2 separate regions of the Homo sapiens genome follow, and region 2 is linked to region 1. The links are contacts of gene promoters, found by promoter capture Hi-C in human tissues and cell types (Jung and others, 2019). All regions are on one chromosome and are shown on one strand. The core of a region is centred on a gene start or on the middle of the fragment in contact, and the rest is flanking DNA. Distances in the headings are between cores, read along the strand shown.

Region 1 (5,339 bases), core at 1,091-3,590:
ATTCTCAGAGGAGGCAGCGGAGGGGCTGTAGGAGTTGTGGAGTGGGGGCAGGACGCATGCTTGTGTCTGGGGCCCAGGTTCCCATCTCTTTTTTGCTGCTAGACTGGGGGCCTCCCAGCACCCTCCCTATACAGCCGAAGACTGAAGGCCCTTGCTGGAAGCACCAGAAATGATCACAGCGCCTGGGCAGGGTGCTGGGGGCTGTCACCAGCACAGTGGCAGAAGGGCCTGCACTAGACAGAGCAGGGGGCTGAGGCTGGCGGAGAGCACCCCATGCCCCATGTGCCTCCATGCCTGTGCCTTCCCCGAGCCACCTCTGTTCAGCCTCCCCAGGGCCGGAGACGGGGTGCAGTTATCTTCCCATTTCATGGATGGTAGGACTGAGGCTGAGGGCCCGCTCTGTGTGTGTGAACGTGGGCTCTGGAGCTTCTCTCTGGGGTTTGGTGGCTGACAGCAGGTCTGCTGAGAATGGAGGGAAAGGCTTGGTGCAGCATTACATACCAGCGAGGGGCCGGGAACACCACCCAGGAAAATGACGTTGCCAGCTGCCCAGCACATCGGCTCCCACGCCACCCTGTTATAGTCCCTAGCCTGCTCCGTGAGATGAGCAGAGCTCTGAAACCCCTCAGCAGTCAGTAGGTTTAATTAGATCCCAGGACACGCTAGGACAGCTGGCTCCATGTCCCCTCCAGGAGAGCCTTTTCTGAGGTGTGAGAACGAGCCACTTCTCTGGAGTGAACTTGCCTCTCTTCCCTGCTTCCCCCTTGGACCTTGGAGACACGAAGGGGCAGGGCACAGAATGGCAGCAGGCAGGCAGCACTGCATCAGGACAGGGCCAGGAGGAGAGGCCCCTGTGAGGCTGGGAAGCAGGTGGAGGGCTCCTTGCGTGAGCTAAGAAGGCTCCCAAGCTGGGAGGCAGGGCCGGGTATGCTGTCCCCAGCCTTCTGCCAGCCATGGGTCAGCTCCATGTTCGCTGAGCACTACCCAGAGCTGGTGGCGGTGGCATGTTCCCATCAGTGAGAGCAGAAGCTGCCCCCGGCCCCTCCTCCAGCCTGCCGTGTCCCCTTGGCTGCTCAGTCGCAGCGTCCGCCCTAGGCCAGGCCTGGGAGCTCGACACAGTGTCCCCCAGCATCACTGAGTCCTCAGTATCCTGACTCACCAGGAGGAGGTGAGAACCCTCCAAGAACCCCTTGGGTGCTCTGGAGCCATCCTCTTGTCAGTGGTCCTGCTGCACAGCCCCCACCTGGGCCCCTTTGGCCAGGCTCCAGCCCCCTTCTGTCCCTGTCTGCTGGGTGGGGGTCATATGACTTGAGCGGGTCACCTCAGCCCTCTGGTGCCAGCTTCCTGGTTGGTTAAATGAGGTGGGGGCCTCCCAAGTCCCCATCAGTATCCTGGTCTGATTCCTGTGCCAGGGAGGCCATGGCCCAGTTCCCTTTGGGGGAGAGCAGGTTGTCCCTGGCTGTGTGACTTGGGCAAATCACCTAGCCTGGCTGTGTCTCAGTTTCCCAGTGCACAGGCAGTGGCTCTTTCCTCCCTGTCCCCCCTCCCCCTGAGTGCTGACCCTCAGGGAGTGGATTTCAGGAAGGGTGAAAGAGTCTGATCGTTAGGGTCCCTGGAGCCAAGTCACAGGACAACAGCCAGCAGGAAGGAATGACAAGCCATCAGATAGAAGCGGCTAACCACAGGCATGTGGCTGCCCTGTCGCCTCCGTCCCGCAGAGGAGCTGCGGGAGACCTGCCTTACTTAGACCTTTCTCAGACCTCTGTGAAGAGCCAGAGAATAGAAGATGCTTCCCTTGCCCCTAGCCTTCTGGGGCAGCCCCCAAACCCTTCATCCCTGTAGCCTGCTACCCCCAAAGGTAGCTGCAGCCAGATGGAGCCCCTTGCCCCTCTCACCACTCCCAGCACCTCTCACCACCGCATGGTCCTGTGGGGGCTCCAAGCTAGGAAAGTGCCCTGGGGAAGACCCAAGGCACCAGTGGCCAATCTCAGGGAGAGACCCCCGGGGAGCGGACAGGGGAGAACGCCACTTACCTGGGGAAGGGCCCCCAGTGGTGCTCAAGACCAGGCAGCAGAAGGCCAGCAGAGTTCCAGCCGCTCGCATGGCTGCCCGGGTAGGGACAGTGCGGGGCAGTTGGGGGTGGCCGTGCAGTGCCTTCTCAGGCAGCATGGGGCAGTTGGAGGCAGTGGTTGGTGCCCGTGCCGAGCCTTCTTGGGTAGATGGCGCAGGGCAGGTGGGGGCAGTGGTCTGTGCCCGTGCCAATCCTTCTCAGGCAGCACGGGCCAGTGCCGGGCAATGGTTTGTGCCTGTGCTGAGCCTTCTTGGGCAGCATGGAACAGTGGGCTGTCCCAGCCCAGGGGCAGGTGCCAGGGCCACAGCATGGAACCCCACCCTGCAAACCACTGTGGGATGGGGCAGGGGCGGGGCTAGGGGGCTGCCTGCGTGGTGCTGGGGAGGGGAGTGTTTTGCTGCTGAATCATTTTGGCCAGAAGCTCTTCACCTTCAGATCTATCAGCCACAAAGCAACCGCTTCCTTTATAAAAGTTTCCGAGCAGCCGTCATTTGCTGGGGGAGGAGGAAGAGACATGAGACCCATGAGCAAATCCTGATGCAATGTTCTACCCCTGAGCCACACACGAAAGAGATGTTGCATGAAAAACATTAGCAGGAATTTTCAAAAGCAAAATCACTTGATTTTCCTTTTTCTTTTAATTACTTAAGTTCTGGGGTACATGTGCAGAACATGCAGGTTTGTTACATAGGTATACACGTGCCATGGTGGTTTGCTGCACCCATCAACCCATCATCTACATTAGGTATTTCTCCAAATGCTATCCCTCCCCTGGCCCCGGATCCCCAGATAGTCCTTGGTGTGTGATGTTCCCCTCCCTGTGTCCATGTGTTCTCATTGTTCAACTCCCACCTATGAATGAGAACATGCGGTGTTTGGTTTTCTGTTCTTGTGTTAGTTTGCTGAGAATGATGGTTTCCAGCTTCATCCATGTCCCTGCAAAGGACATGAACTCATCTTTTTTATGGCTGCATAGTATTCCATGGTGTATATGTGCCACATTTTCTTTATCCAGTCTACCATTGATGGGCATTTGGGTTGGTTCCAAGTCTTTGCTATTGTGACTAGTGCTGCAGTAAACATACGTGTGCATGTGTCTTTATAGTAGAATGATTTTTGAGTATATACCCAGTAATGAAATTGCTGGGTCAAATGGTATTTCTGGTTCTAGATCCTTGAGGAATCACCACACTGTCTTCCACAATGGTTGAACTAATTTACACTCCCACCAACAGTGTAAAAGCGTTCCTATTTCTCCACATCCTCTCCAGCATCTGTTGCTTCCTGACTTTTTAACGATCACCATTCTAACTGGCATGAGATGGTACCTCATTGTGGTTTTGATTTGCATTTCTCTAATGACCAGTGATGATGAGCGTTTTTTCATATGTTTCTTGGCTGCATAAATGTCTTCTTTTTAGTGTCTGTTCATATCCTTCACCCAATTTTTGATGGGGTTGTTTTTTTCTTGTCAATTGTTTAAGTTCCTTGTAGATTCTCGACATTAGCTCTTTGTCAAATGGATATATTGCAAAAATTTTCTCCCATTCTGTAGGTTGCCTGTTCACTCTGATGACAGTTTCTTTTGCTGTGTGGAAGTTCATTAGTTTAATTAGGTCCCATTTATCAATTTTGGCTTTTGTTGCTATTCCTTTTGGTGTTTTAGTCATGAAGTCTTTGCCCATGCCTATGTCCTGAATGGTACTGCCTAGGTTTTCTTCTAGGGTTTTTATGGTTTTAGGTCTTAAGTCCTTAATCCATGTTGAGTTAATTTTTGTATAAGGTGTAAGGAAGGGGTCCAGTTTCAGTTTTCTGCAAATGGCTAGCCAGTTTTCCCAACACCATTTATTAAATAGGGAATCCTTTCCCCATTGGTTGTTTTAGTCAGGTTTGTCAAAGATCAGGTGGTTGTTGATGTGTGGTGTTATTTCTGGGCTTCTGTTCTGTTCCATTGGTCTATATATCTGTTTTGGTACCAGTACCATGCTGTTTTGGTTACTGTAGGCTTGTAGTATGGTTTGAAGTCAGATAGCATGATGCCTCCAGCTTTGTTCTTTTTGCTTAGGATTGTCTTGGCTATGCAGGCTCTTTTTTGGTTCCCTATGAACTTTAAAGTAGTTTTTTCCAATTCTGTGAAGAAAGTCAATGATAGCTTGATGGGGGATATCACTGAATCTATAAATTACTTTGGGCAGTATGGCCATTTTCACAACATTGATTCTTCCTATCCATGAGCATGGAATGTTTTTCCATTTATTTGTATCCTCTCTTATTTCCTTGAACAGTGGTTTGTAGTTCTCCTTGAAGAGGTCCTTCACATCCCTTGTAAGTTGTATTCCTAGGTATTTTATTCTCTTTGTAGCAATTGTGAATGGGAGTTCACTTATAATTTCACTCTCTGTTTGTCTATTATTGGTGTATAGGAATGTTTGTGATTTTTGCACATTGATTTTGTATCCTGAGACTTTGCTGAAGTTGCTTATCAGCTTGTGGAGATTTTGGGCTGAGATGATGGGGTTTTCTAAATATACAGTCATGTCATCTGCAAACAGAGACAATTTGACTCCCTCTTTTCCTATTTGAATACTCTTTATTTCCTTCTCCTGCCTAATTGCCCTGGCCAGAACTTCCAACACTATGTTGAATAGGAGTGGTGAGAGAGGGCATCCTAGTCTTGTGCCAGTTTTCAAAGGGAATGCTTCAAGTTTTTGTCCATTCAGTATGATATTGGCTGTGGGTTTGTCATAAATAGCTCTTATTATTTTAAGATACAGTTCATCAAAACCTACTTTATTCAGAGTTTTTAGCATGAAGGGGTGTTGAATTTTGTTGAAGGCCTTTTCTGCATCTATTAAGATAATCATGTGGTTTTTCTCATTGGTTCTGTTTATATGCTGGATTACGTTTATTGATTTGCATATGTTGAACCAGCCTTGCATTCCAGGTATGAAGCTGACTTGATCATGGTGGATAAGTTTTGATGTGCTGCTGGATTCAGTTTGCCATATTTTATTGAGGATTTTCACATTGATGGGACATCAGGGATATTGGCCTGAAATTTTCTTTTTGTTGTGTTTCTGCCAGGTTTTGGTATTAGGATGATGCTGGCCTCATAAAATGAGTTAGGGAGGATTCCCTCTTTTTCTCTTGTTTGGAATAGTTTCAGAAGGAATGGTAGCAGCGCCTCTTTGTACCTCTGGTAGAATTCAGCTGTGAATCCATCTGGTCCTGGACTTTTTTTTGGTTGGTAGGCTATTAATTACTGCCT
Region 2 (5,339 bases), core at 1,795-4,294, 260 kb before region 1:
GCGGAGGTTGCAGTGAGCCAAGATCGCACCACTGTACTCCAGCCTGGGCAGCAGAGCGAGACTCCGTCTCAAAAAAAATAAAAATAAAATAAAAAATAAAAATCCAACTTTACTGAAGATAATTTACACACAAAACAACTGCATCAGTGTTAAATTTTAACATAGTTAATTCTTGCCAATTCAATAAACAGCGGAATAGGATAAGTGACTCCAAACTGAAAATAGGAACACCATTTCCTTGATTCTGAAATGAATTTATTAAAGGGTTCTCAAGATTAGGGTATTTTCTTCATTTTAAAAAATGGAGTGTTTTAAATTATTAGGAGTGGTATGAACTTGTGCTTACAATAAGGAGGCATACTAAATTCAGACGCGAAGACTGGACCAGAAAAAATCAGGGACAAAACTTTTTGCAAAGTCTTTTCTCTCCAAAGAGAAAACCCTGGGACATGGCTCCAAAAGCATCGCAGGCTGATGTCTGTTGCACACTTAGCTTTGAAGAAGCTTTACTTTTTAATTATTAATTTTTAAAAAGTTCCACTTAAAAAAAAATTTTTTGAGATCAAGTTTCACTCTTGTTGCCCAGGCTGCAGTGCAATGGTGTGATCTTGGCTCACTGCAAACTCCGCCTACCAGGTTCAAGCGATTCTCCTGCCTTAGCCTCCCACATAGCTGGGATTACAGGCTTCGAAGCCACTTTTAGAGATAAGCAGATATGGCATCTAAATATTTCACTACTGTAATAAGTTAAAAAATAACGCAGATGGAGTCAAAAGTAAATAAAATACACCACTCAGCTTTGGAGACAGCAGCTAGAAATGTCCAGCACCAGCAGAACCGTGCAATGCCAGGATGGTGTCTACCCCACAGGTTCCAGGTCAGCCAAGAAGAGCATGGGACACCCAGGGGACCTGCCTGACAGGGGCTGCAAACTCTCACTGGCTACAGCTAGAGAGACATGGAGGGCGAACCTCAGGGTCACGGGCACGAGAGGGGCATCAGGGAACCAAGGGAAGAGGGTGGTTGGAGAGCAGAGGAACCGGGTGGCGAGGGGGACCCCTCAAGAGAAGCCGCCCACCCCGGCCTGAGGCCCACCCTAGAAGCATAGCCAACGAAGCCCAGGCTCCAGCTCCCTTATCCAGCTGAGACCCCTCTCGGCTGTTGCCCCTGGCCATCTTGGCCCACCTGGCAGCTCCCGGTCAAGCCCAGGAGCCTTTATTATTTATCTGACTTTCCTGATTTTCTGGCTCCCATGGGACTGAATCTGGGGATACTTCCTGCCTGAACTCCCCACAAAGCCCCAAACACAACCACTGGCCTAAATCATGGTCCTAGCCACCTGACCTGCTGGTGAATGTGGGGAGGGGACAGGCCACCAAACACCTCAAGGTCTCAGCTGCCCTTCAGCATGGTCACCACTCACTAGTGTAAGAGTGATCTGGGACTCCCGGGAAATTCAGATGCTTGGACCCCAGCCCATACCAGCGTCAGCATCTCTGGGAAACTGCATTTAGACAAGCTCCCAGGTGAGTCTGTGGCAGGGGACCCGGCCAACACTGTAGCACAGGGGAGGAGATCCCGAGAGCCCTGCCATGAGAGGCGGGTACCTCTGGGGGGCCGGGTGAACTGGAAGACGTGTACTCGGGTGCCAGTGCTTCCTGCATCAAACATGATCCCGTAGAAGACCTCGTGCCCGTCTGCAGCTGTCCCCAGGGGGCTGTGGGCCTGCTGACCCCACCGGGCCCCCGGGGCTGCCCTGGTGATGCTGAAGAAGGCCTGGGTGGCGGTGGCCCGGTGCCACTTGATGTAGGCAACATAGATGAACACGCCCACACACAGCCCCAGGGGGTATGCCACCTTCGCCACCCGCAGGCTCCCGTGGTTGGATATTTTTCTCATCCTTGTTTGCCAAGGACCGTGCTGCGGCTGCTGGTGGGAAGGGGGGAGAGGCAGGAAAAGCACGTTAGGGTGCTAGGATCCAAGGAGAGTCAGACGTCCCCAGGCCCAGGGACAAAATGTTCAACCTGAAACTGCTCCGTGTTCCCCCCAGGAATCAGAAGCTTCATTTGAGCCTCATAATTATTCCAGAAGGTGTGATCCCCATCCTACAGAAGAGGAACTGAGGTTTATAAAGGCAGGACAGCCTGCTCAAGGTCGCACACATTGCAGCTGCTGACCTGGTGCACAGACCACAGTGGCTGGCTCCTCTAAGGGAGGGTCCCACCAGCTTGGGACACATGGCGATTTATGTAAAAGAAGCCACATGTAAATGGTGTTCCCAAACTGTTCATGGGAACAGAAGCGCGTATCTGATTCAGTCTTTCAATCCTCAGTTATACTTCTATTCAGGCAATTTACTTTTCGAAAGGTTTAAACTCCGTCCCTTGGGCAACTACTGAGAGCCCCAGACAAACCTGAAAAATGTAGCTCGTTTTTCTGGAAGTTTCATAACGGATACCTTTTTTCATTCACATAGCCCATTCCTGCCAAGGAGAAAATAATGTCTGTGTACTTCCAAAGCCTACAAAAATTCTACTAGAGTAGCAAAATAAATTCACTGGGTGCCATTGTTTTTGGTTCGATATACCCAAAATGAAAGCATTTGTTCAAGTTTCATTGGCTGCTCCAGTGCGAGGCAGCATGTGGGAACCTGAGGCTTCAAAGGACAAGAAGTGTGGGCCGACTCTAGGGCCCCCAACCTTGGGGAACGTCCATCAGCCTGTCCCTCCCTCACTCTCTCAGTCGGTCCTGGTGAGTGGCCACTCCTAGGGGAGCAGGGATCAGGAGGATGCCGGGCTGGAAGTGGCACCGGCTCTGCCCGCAGCTACGTGTGACAGTGGGCAACATGCCCCTCAAGGGGGCCAGTTTCATCTGCAAGGTGGGGCTGCTCATTGGAGAGCCCCTCGTGACTGTGGGGATTCAATGTGCTCAGAACAGGCTGCAGGGAAAGCACGTGCCACATGCGGGCTTTACAGAAGGGCAGCAGGAGGTGACATCTCTGTGGAACCAAGGACAGCATGGCTGCACTGCTGAGGAGGGGGCAGTAGCAGTCAAAGGAGCAAGCCCGCAGCGACCTGCGCTACCTGAGGCTGTTTGGGCACAGCAGAACGGAAGGACAGGGCCCGCGGGGCAAAGCACGGGGAGCAGGCCATTCCTGGCCCCTCCTTCCTGAGGTCCCGCCTGTGGCCACAGCTGGATATCCTCAGGCCCAGAGAGGTAAGACAAGCACTGCCACAGTGCCCCGTGCCGAGGGGAGAGGCCTCACCAGTGGCCTGGCCACCCACACTGGAGCAGGAGACAGGAAAAACCACCCTTCCCTGAGCATCTGCCACGGGCAGGGCTGCAAAAAGCCTCTCCTGGCAGGTGCCAACGTGCAGCCCCTCCCCAGCCCTATTCTGGGCCTGGGTCCCACCACACTCGGGGGCTTCCCACAGCTCTCAGGATCATGTTGCAGCCTCTGCCTGGGCCTGTCCCTGCCGGCCCCTGTCCCTGCTGGCCCCTGTGGCTTCATCGCACTCCTCTTTCGTCCTTGCCCACAGTGCTCTGAGAACAGTGCCTTCTTCTGCCCCTAGAACTCAGCCTCTCCCTGCCTCAGGCCCCTGGCACAGACTGATACGCATTCCCAGAATACTTGTCCCACCACACTGGCACCGTGTCTTCATTCTGAAACCTCCACTGAAATGTCACTGCCACCCCCTTCCCGGATGCCCCCAACCTGCACATGCCCCATCACGCACTCTCTGAGCTCCCTTTACCCACCACCAGCAGTGATGAAACCAGTATTCATAGACCTGATTCCTGTAGGTCTGTGTCTCCCCACTAGGCCATGAGCCCCCAGGGCAGGGACTCAGCTTGTCTTGTGCTGCTGCTGCCCAGCATGGCATCCAAGCCCTTCTCTAGAATGGAAGAGGCTGCTCCTCTACCCCCGCACCTTCTATAACGTCACCAGACACACAACAGAGTCCTGTAGAAAATCCATAAACAGGGAGAGGACACAGCAAGACGGCAAAAGAGGAAGCTCAAAGGCCCTTGTTCCCCCACAGAGAAACACTAAAAACAACTAGAGACTGGTTAAAATATTGCATAGGAGCTCTGCAAAACAGGCAACGATCTACAGCAACCAAGAGAATGCCCAGCCCAGAAGCAGCCACATTCAGGATGTCAGGAACTCTGAGGTGTTTCACTCACCCCTGCCCCAGGCCTCCCCAGCATGGCACCACCTGATGAATGCGGCAGCCCGGTTCCCAATTCCTTCCCTTGAACTGGAGGGAGCAGAGCGGACCTTTCTGCAACATCCTAATCTGTCTTGGGCTGCCTGAGGAACAGATCTCTGTTTCACCTGACTCTGAGCTCAGAGCCCAGATAGGAAGTCAGGGAAATGGTTATGGGCACTGCTAGGCAAAGCTGTAGGATGACTATAGCCCCACGCATACCTGGGGCAAGAATGACAGGTGAGAAATACAGTAGAACATCTGAGGCCCAAGGAGGGACTGGGGGAGACTTTGAGAAAGTAAGATATATATATATATATATAAAGCTTTGTAAAAGTTTAATGGAGCCAACAAGGCAAATAAATTGTGTTCCGGCAGACATTAAGACCTGCTTTCTCTTACCAAAAAATAAGGGCACACATTTTTATCAAAATTCGATAATTCAGAGTTAAGGGTACTGAGATTAAGCTTCAAAGCACCAACTTAAACCAAACAGCAATGAAAAATTGGTTATTCAACTTGGAAAGAGGAACTAAAACCAAGGCATAAAGGGGAGATTAAATATGTGTTCCTTGATCTCAAAGTCCTTTTAGGAGCAGGAGTTCTGGCCACATGTGAGCAACACATCACACCACCAAACCCCAATTCCAGAATCTAAATTTACAATGATAGAAAAACAAAGGTTACTCCAAATGCATTTCTTGGTATATTCCAAAGGGAAGCTTGAAAGTATTCATAATGAAAGTAAGAGATTTTGAAACAGCCACGAATATGGGGAAATTGAAAAAAACACATACACAGGCCCAGGGAAGATGCATCCTCAGAAGAAACCAGAGGAAACTTTGGCCTTCATCCAGAGCTGATCCCCACACTTAGGCAGATCCTGCTATTTGGTGGGGGCCATTCCCAATACAGAGTTAGTCTTCAAAGACTGGGACAAGGAGCTGTTTTTCAAATGCCCAATGTTCAGCAAAAAAATCACACGGCATACAAAGAAACAGGAAAACACAGCTCATTCAGAGGAAGAAAATGAAGTGGCAGAACCCATCCCTGAAGAAATGCAGGCACTGGATGTACTTGACCAAGACTAAAAATGACTGTCTTAAATATGCTAAAAGAGCTGAAGGA

The links. Contacts are between HindIII fragments. The study calls those that stand out against the background at their distance.
Region 2: a contact is called between a fragment that was not itself captured here and the fragment with the promoter of CST7 in region 1, in 2 of the 25 tissues and cell types used here (pancreas and thymus).

What each region holds. Positions count from the first base shown.
Region 1 is chr20:24,946,270-24,951,608 of GRCh38, reverse strand. CST7 (cystatin F) reads right to left here and starts at 2,340. Exons shown (of 4, transcript NM_003650.4): 1 at 2,034-2,340. The coding sequence starts at 2,103. RefSeq lists an enhancer at 2,625-2,674. The HindIII fragment of the contact is 14,192 bases long and covers 1-5,339 here.
Region 2 is chr20:25,203,666-25,209,004 of GRCh38, reverse strand. ENTPD6 (ectonucleoside triphosphate diphosphohydrolase 6) reads right to left here. Exons shown (of 15, transcript NM_001247.5): 2 at 2,415-2,483; 3 at 1,608-1,929. The coding sequence starts at 2,468. Among named protein-coding and RNA genes, the nearest start is that of ENTPD6, 11 kb to the right of the region's middle. The HindIII fragment of the contact is 3,524 bases long and covers 1,283-4,806 here.